2 separate regions of the Homo sapiens genome follow, and region 2 is linked to region 1. The links are contacts of gene promoters, found by promoter capture Hi-C in blood cells and fetal thymus (Javierre and others, 2016). All regions are on one chromosome and are shown on one strand. Each heading gives the region's core, a stretch centred on a gene start or on the middle of the fragment in contact. The rest is flanking DNA. Distances are from core to core; before and after follow the strand shown.

What was found. Contacts are between HindIII fragments. The CHiCAGO score rates a contact against its expected background, and 5 or more counts as called.
Region 2: a fragment that was not itself captured here is called in contact with the fragment with the promoter of TCEAL7 in region 1 in 1 of 17 cell types (erythroblasts); the score reaches 5.0 in erythroblasts.

What each region holds. Positions count from the first base shown.
Region 1 is chrX:103,328,710-103,332,052 of GRCh38, reverse strand. TCEAL7 (transcription elongation factor A like 7) reads right to left here and starts at 1,814. Exons shown (of 3, transcript NM_152278.5): 1 at 1,749-1,814; 2 at 1,013-1,130; 3 at 1-676. The coding sequence starts at 649. The coding sequence ends at 347. RefSeq lists an enhancer at 799-1,298. The HindIII fragment of the contact is 8,380 bases long and covers 1-3,343 here.
Region 2 is chrX:102,959,644-102,962,986 of GRCh38, reverse strand. LINC00630 (long intergenic non-protein coding RNA 630) reads right to left here. Exons shown (of 12, transcript NR_146589.1): 12 at 1-1,381. Among named protein-coding and RNA genes, the nearest start is that of RAB40AL, 24 kb to the right of the region's middle. The HindIII fragment of the contact is 906 bases long and covers 1,148-2,053 here.

The DNA.
Region 1 (3,343 bases), core at 565-3,064:
TTTGGTGTATAATAAAATCAGACACTTTCCTTTGCATTATGTCACATAGAAATGTACAAATAAAGTGTACATATATACACACATATATGTATACACTGTTTTGCAACTCGTTATTTTCACTTTGCAATATACAATGAGCATTTTTCCATGCAAATGAATGAGACCTCTTATTAAATGAATAAGATTGGGTCAAAAGATGAGATGTTGACAAGAGTCATATGTAAATCTCAGCAACATCGAATGACTGGAGTAAAACGATAGCAAATATTTATCAAGAAAGTGCAGACAAACAGAAAGCAGTGGCAACATTAATAACAGAAAATAATTGAATTGTCAGAGAAATTAATTAAATGGGATAAGGACGGTCCCGAGAATGCCTATGGTTAGAATGCAGAGCCCTAAATTTCTTTCTCAGACCCCTTATCTCTTCCAAACACCTTTCCATCTCATCTCCCTCCCTTGTCATTTCTTCATCTTTAAAATGCCTATAGTCTATGTCCTCTTTAAATTCTTCGAGAGACTGAAGCAGCCTCTGTCTAAAATTCCCTTCTGTTTGCTGGCGTTCAAATTCTCCATACGGGCGTTTTTCCTCCCTCTTTGGCACGCTGCACTTTGGCTTTCCTTCGTTTTCTTTGCAGGGTTTTTGCATGATGTTGTTGTTGTTTCCTGCTTAACTCTAGGGAGAAAATGTAAAGACAAATTGCTTCATTACTTTTGAATCACGATTGTCAGTTTCTCTCTGAGGCAAGATACTTTCCCATCTCTGCCCCACAGGTCCAGACCTCATAAGTCTGCGGCAGTTCCCTCCACCCTCTCATCTCCCCCTTTTCTCCCCTCCCACCTCAGGAACCCACCGTTTCCCCAGCAGACAAAGCTAATGGCCTCTCCAATAGGCAGGAGAGGCGGAGCAGAAAAGGAGATGGACTGCGAAGCCGCAAATTTCGCCTAGCTTTTGCCCCTTCCCGACTCCTATCCTCAGAGATCTCAGTCTAAGTGCCTCTCTCATACTGACCTGTGCGGGGTAGTTTCCTGCTCCTTTTCTTCCCCCAGATGTCTGTGAACACAGATCCTGGGACCTCCAAACAAAAAGGAAGGGGCGGGGAGGAAGGAGCTATCTGTGGATCAACCAGCTCCAGAGACAAGACAGACGTTATTATTTTGAACCTGGGATTCTCATCATCACCGTCATCGCCCCCCGGATTTCTACCTCCTGGCCCCTCCTTCCTGTCTGTATCCTTTCCTTCAGGATTTCCGTTTCCACTCCCCACTCCTCACCCTCAGGCCTGGGCCTTGCAAGGCCCGCGTCTCCCTCCTTCGCCCCGTCCCGCGCCCCACCCCACCACCACAGGCCGGCATTGAGTGAGGTGAACTATTTTCAAATGATCTCTAAATTTCTGTTGTCTCCATCCCGGGATTTCAGCCTTTCTCCACACACCAACACATACCCCAGGCCTAAAATTTTCTCTTAACAAAATTGGAGAAAGATGAGGAGAAGGATAAAAAGAAAGCATGCCAGGGTGAGAGAAGCCGATTATTTCAAAGCTGTCACTAAATCTCTAGGTGTCTCTCAAAAGATTTCGACCTACCCCCTTGCTTCCCCCTGCAAAAGATACAATTATCTCCGACGATTTTGCAGCGGTTTTGGGAAAGCAAGTCTGGACCTATTCCAGTCATTAGATTCACCCACTACTGACCCCGGGGGTCCAGTGGTTCCTTCACTCCAACCTGCTGGGATTTAAGGAATTTACCTCTTCCTTCCCTTGGCCACAAGCACGCACGGCACGCTTGTCTGCAGGGCAGTAAGGAGCTGGTACCCAGAGGAGAAAGAAGCCCGGGAATATAAGGACTTCGGTTCACGTCAGCTCCTGATCACGTGAGGATTATGTCATCCCCCATCTCTGGTCCCCACTTTCCCCTCCCACCAGCAGCGCTGCAGAAGTGGACCGGCTTACCAACCTCCCACCCCACACCACACCAGGCCCTGTCACTCATTTTTGTCTTTGCTAATTCCAGAGGTCAAAAGTGGCGCCTTCTCCCTGTGGTCAGAATTTGCCTTTCTCTGATTACCAGGGAGGGGCTGCATTTTCCCAAAGTTATATTAACCATTGTTACTTTTTTTGTGGTTGTGCTGAGAGGGAGGATTACTTATCCTTTTCTAAGCTACAAGAAAAGAAAAGTGGCAGTCTCCTCCATCCAATCGCCTCTCAGCCACTAATAGCCATCATTTCCCTTGGAGTCCAATCCTTGAAACCAGATTGGAGGGAATGGGGTGAATTAGGAAAGGAGGTAATGATTTGGATTGTGCTTCTTACTTTTGTTTTGATAATTTCTTATTCTTTTCCAATTTTTCCATAAACTTATTATATACTTTTAATAATCAGAAATATGATAAAGATATGTACATTTGGAAAAAGATTCCAGATAGGAGGATAAAAAGGCCAGCCACCTGTTTCTGCTGCTGAAGTCATAATATAAATATAGACCCTTTAGGCAGACATATTTTTTGAAGTTTAAGATGTACAGGTCAGTTGGAACCTACTCTTTTGAGGGGCTCCCGGGCATGTGAGGTCCTTCCATTAGGTGAGTCACTGAGACCATAATCCTACAGCACCTTGCCCTTAGATTTCCAGATCGCAACTGTAAGTCACAAATTTTAACTAGTTTGAGCTCAGTATCATGCCCTCTTTCTTCCAGTTTATACCATACACATAACCCTTTTTTCTTCAATACTGTACCCCTAATATCCCAACTTTTTTCAACACTCTCATTCAGAAAAGAATAGTTTTTCATTTTCCCTAGACATCTCCATCCTATTTATGTTTTCCATGACCTTATTTAGCCATACTGATGTATTGAAAGCTACTTGTAGTACTAACAAAAATTAGTCACATTTAGCCACCCAACACACTAAACTTTTTGTTGCTAAGGATTTGGGTACTTGTCTAAGTAGATTTGCTCTTGATTTGTTAGCTTGAAATATATGCAATAGAAAGGGAGATGTGTAAACTTCTCATAAGTTGTTTTTAGGAAGATTGCAGCTCATTATGAATATAAAGTTACCACTAATCAGTTTGATATAAATGACTCCAGAAAAAAGTTCAGTGGTCAGAAAAAAGTCTTAAAAACAGTAGAGCATCATTGTCACAGTTATTAAGGAATGACTAGTTGTGATAGAGGCAAAAAATTCGTTTGTGGGGAGAAAAATTCCTGAATCCTCTGTGAACAGCTTTTCATGCAGATGGTTAGACTCAGAGTTATAAAATGGCTGAAGGATTCGGGTGTTGAAGACTTTGCATATTAGTAAGAAGAATGGCATTGGACAAATCCTAGTTTGAATTAATTG
Region 2 (3,343 bases), core at 351-2,850, 370 kb after region 1:
AGAGCCTTGACAGTTTCCCAGGCTCTGGAGCATGATGTACTGAACATAAATCCAAGCTGTCGCACTCCCTAACTGTGCAGTCTCAGGTAAAATTTTTATTCTATCTGCTCCTTAGTTTTCCATCTACAAAATGGAGATCAGCAACAGTTTCAACCTTGTAAGGGTGCCGTGAGAATTGAACGACTCAGTAGCTAAAAAGCACTTGGCACATAACATATTGTAGCCATATTTGTTTCTCTGTCTTTATTGGCCATTAGTATTTACTATCTCTGTGGTAAAGACTCATATTTACTCACAACCAATGACCTTTGAGGTATGGTTTTAGTGAGACAAGCAGGTTATAAAACTAAATGTAGAATGAGATCTTATATTTTGTAGATAAGTATATAAATGTATTCATTTCTGCATAAATTTATAAGTACCTGCATAAGAAAATTTGTGAAAGAATATTATACAGATATAAGCATTAGCAGGTATTCTCTTTGAAATACTCAAGATATTTTGAGAGCAGGTATTCTCTTTTGTTTTAGAGTAATGCTGTTTATTTCATTTCTTATGTATTTATAACTGTAATAAATATCAAATGCTCCTGCAATTATACAAAAACATTGTCAGGAACATTCAAGCATTCCTTACCCCACCCACAGGAAAGAGATACACATTTAGAATGAAGAATATCCCTGAAGCTCAAGAATAAAAGATACTGAGGGAGCCACTTCCAAGTATACGAGGATATATTTTCCCCTAATTCAAAACCAAAGCAATAATTATCAATATTTTATACACCATGACATTCTAGGATTTAAAACCTAGTAGTTTTACACGTTTGTAGTATTGTGCCTTCATGGATACACATTCAACAACTCCTCCCACTTTGAATTACCCACTGGTGCAGATGAAATTCTGGTTCAGAGTCCTGTAGGTGGTAATGGTATGAGGGTCAAGGGCATGTGACTTCTCTCTCCTCTTTATCTGCACTCTTTCTTTATTTGACACTCCATAGGAAACTATTTTTCCAATATCAGTATAGAAGCTCAAATAATGGGGCAAAAATGACACAGAATTAAAGAAATGGTTTGATGATCTTTTCCCTCTTCCCACATTCCTTGGCAAAGCCATCCTGCATCACAGAAATAGCCCCAAAGCTTCATTTATAAACTAAATGTAAGTATATGCTACTTCTTCCTGCTCCATTACCAGCTGGTCTCTGTGGTAGTTATGCTGTTTGGTTTAGATGACAGTCATCACTTCTCTGGGAAGGAGAAGAAAAGTGGGCCAGGATGAATATTTGTTGAAGACTAGGTGCCATCTTCTCTGTATAGGATTTCTCTAGGTGCCATCTTCTCTGTATAGGATTTCTCATTTACCCCACAGGACAGTTCTGTAAGTAACACATCATGAGCTCTCAGTGGTTCCCTTTTCCGGATGACCATGGGCAAGCTGACAGAGGTTAAGGAAGTTTTCCAGTGTCACACATCAAGTAAAAGGCAGGAATGAGGTTCCAGCTTTTGTCCTCTTTAAAATGTTCCATGCATTTTCAACAGAGGATATATTGCCCCCAAGGGGCTGAGAATTGGTTTTTAAGGGTAGGGAGATAGTAGACATTAAAATGGTTTGTGGCACTACATAGGACCAAAATACATAAACAGTTAACACTATATCTGTGGTATTAAAATTTCACATTTCAGGCAAGAAGGGACTAATAAGGAGGAAAAACATGTCTAATAAGGCTCCTTTGGATAACGAAAGAAGATTGGGAAACATTTAATGTGCCCAGTGATATCTTCTGTAGATAATGGGCCACCAAGGCTTAGGGGCTGGTCATTTCACACCACCCCATGGATGCCTACTCAATAACCCCTTTAGATGATGATGCTGATGATGATAATGGGCATTTAATTATAAGTTACTTGAGTAGTATTTTCATTAATCTTAACCTTTACTCAAGTAATTTATAATTAAATGTCCATTTTATATCAGGTTATAGAAAGTTAGGAGAAGTTAAATAAATCAGGGAAACTTTGTTGTTAATGTCTGAAATTTCACTAAAGCTTCTGCTACAGATCTTCACAACCCTGTGCTCAGAAGATCCCCTTGACTCCCTGAGCAGAGCCTGCAGACTGACATGGAGAGCTACATGGAGTCTAGGCAGAGCCACTGCTCAGGCACACATGGAGCTCCAGGGCCCTTGGACTGCTGGGCACCCCAGCACCAGTGGCTGTAGCTCTGGCAACAAGAGAGGCCAGGCTCCCTGGAATGCCTCCAGTATAGGGGCTAAATCCACGGGGCTGAGGAGCAGATGGACTGCAGGCCTCACCTCCATTGCACCTTGCTGGATAATGCCCACTTGGCTGGGTCCCTAGCATGGCCACTCCAGCCTCACTTGAGCTCTAGAGCCAATAGCAGCCCTGTATTTCCCTGGAATGGAGCTCTCAGTGGTAGCAGACGGGTCCCCCAGTCTTGGCAGGGTGATTAAGGACTAATGCAGGCCCCCAGCACAGCACAGCTGCCTTACAGAAAAGTGGCCAGACTTTTTTCCACATAGATCTCTGTCCCCACTACTTCTTACTGGGCAGGGCCTCCAGACTTGGGACTCCAGCCACCCCACCCATGTCTGGGCTCTTGGGCCAGTAGCAGATCCCCCTGGGGGATCTGTACTTCCCTGGGACAGAGCTCTCAATTGTAGCAGGCAGGTCTGCCATTTTTGCTGCTCTGCAGCTCCTGCTCCTGTTTCCCTCAGGCTCAGGAGGGAGCCAAAAGACTTAGGACTAATGCAATCCTCCAGCACAGTGCAGCTGCTTTTTAGATAAGAAGGCAGACTCTCTTCCACATGGGCCCTGGCCCTGTTACTCCTCAGTGGGCAGGGTCTCTCTACCCAGGCCCCCAGAACAACCACCTTGTCCCCGCCCAAACATTTAAGTCAGTGGCAGCTCTGTCATTCTCTAGGGAGGAAATCACAGAGACAACCCACAGCCCCTCTCATTGCAGCTGCAGTGGTACTGCCCTTACTGCCTTTGGGCTGGGGAAGGAACAAAGGTCCAGGTCGCATTGCTGGCACCACCAGCACACCACAGCCACCATATGGGGAGGAGCCCAGTCTGTCTTCCCTGTGAGGCCTCGCTCCCTACTCTTCAACAGGCAAGGCCCCTGGCTTGGGACTACAGGGCAGCTACGCCACCCCCAACTAAGCATTCCCACTGGCAGTGGTTCTGTGTTTCCCTGGGGTGGAGTTCCCAGTGGCAACAGACAGCCCCTTTACCACTGCCACTGCAGTGGTTTTGACCTTGTTGTCTTTGGACTGGGGAAGGAACAAAGAGCCTGAGGGCATTACTCATGTCTCTAG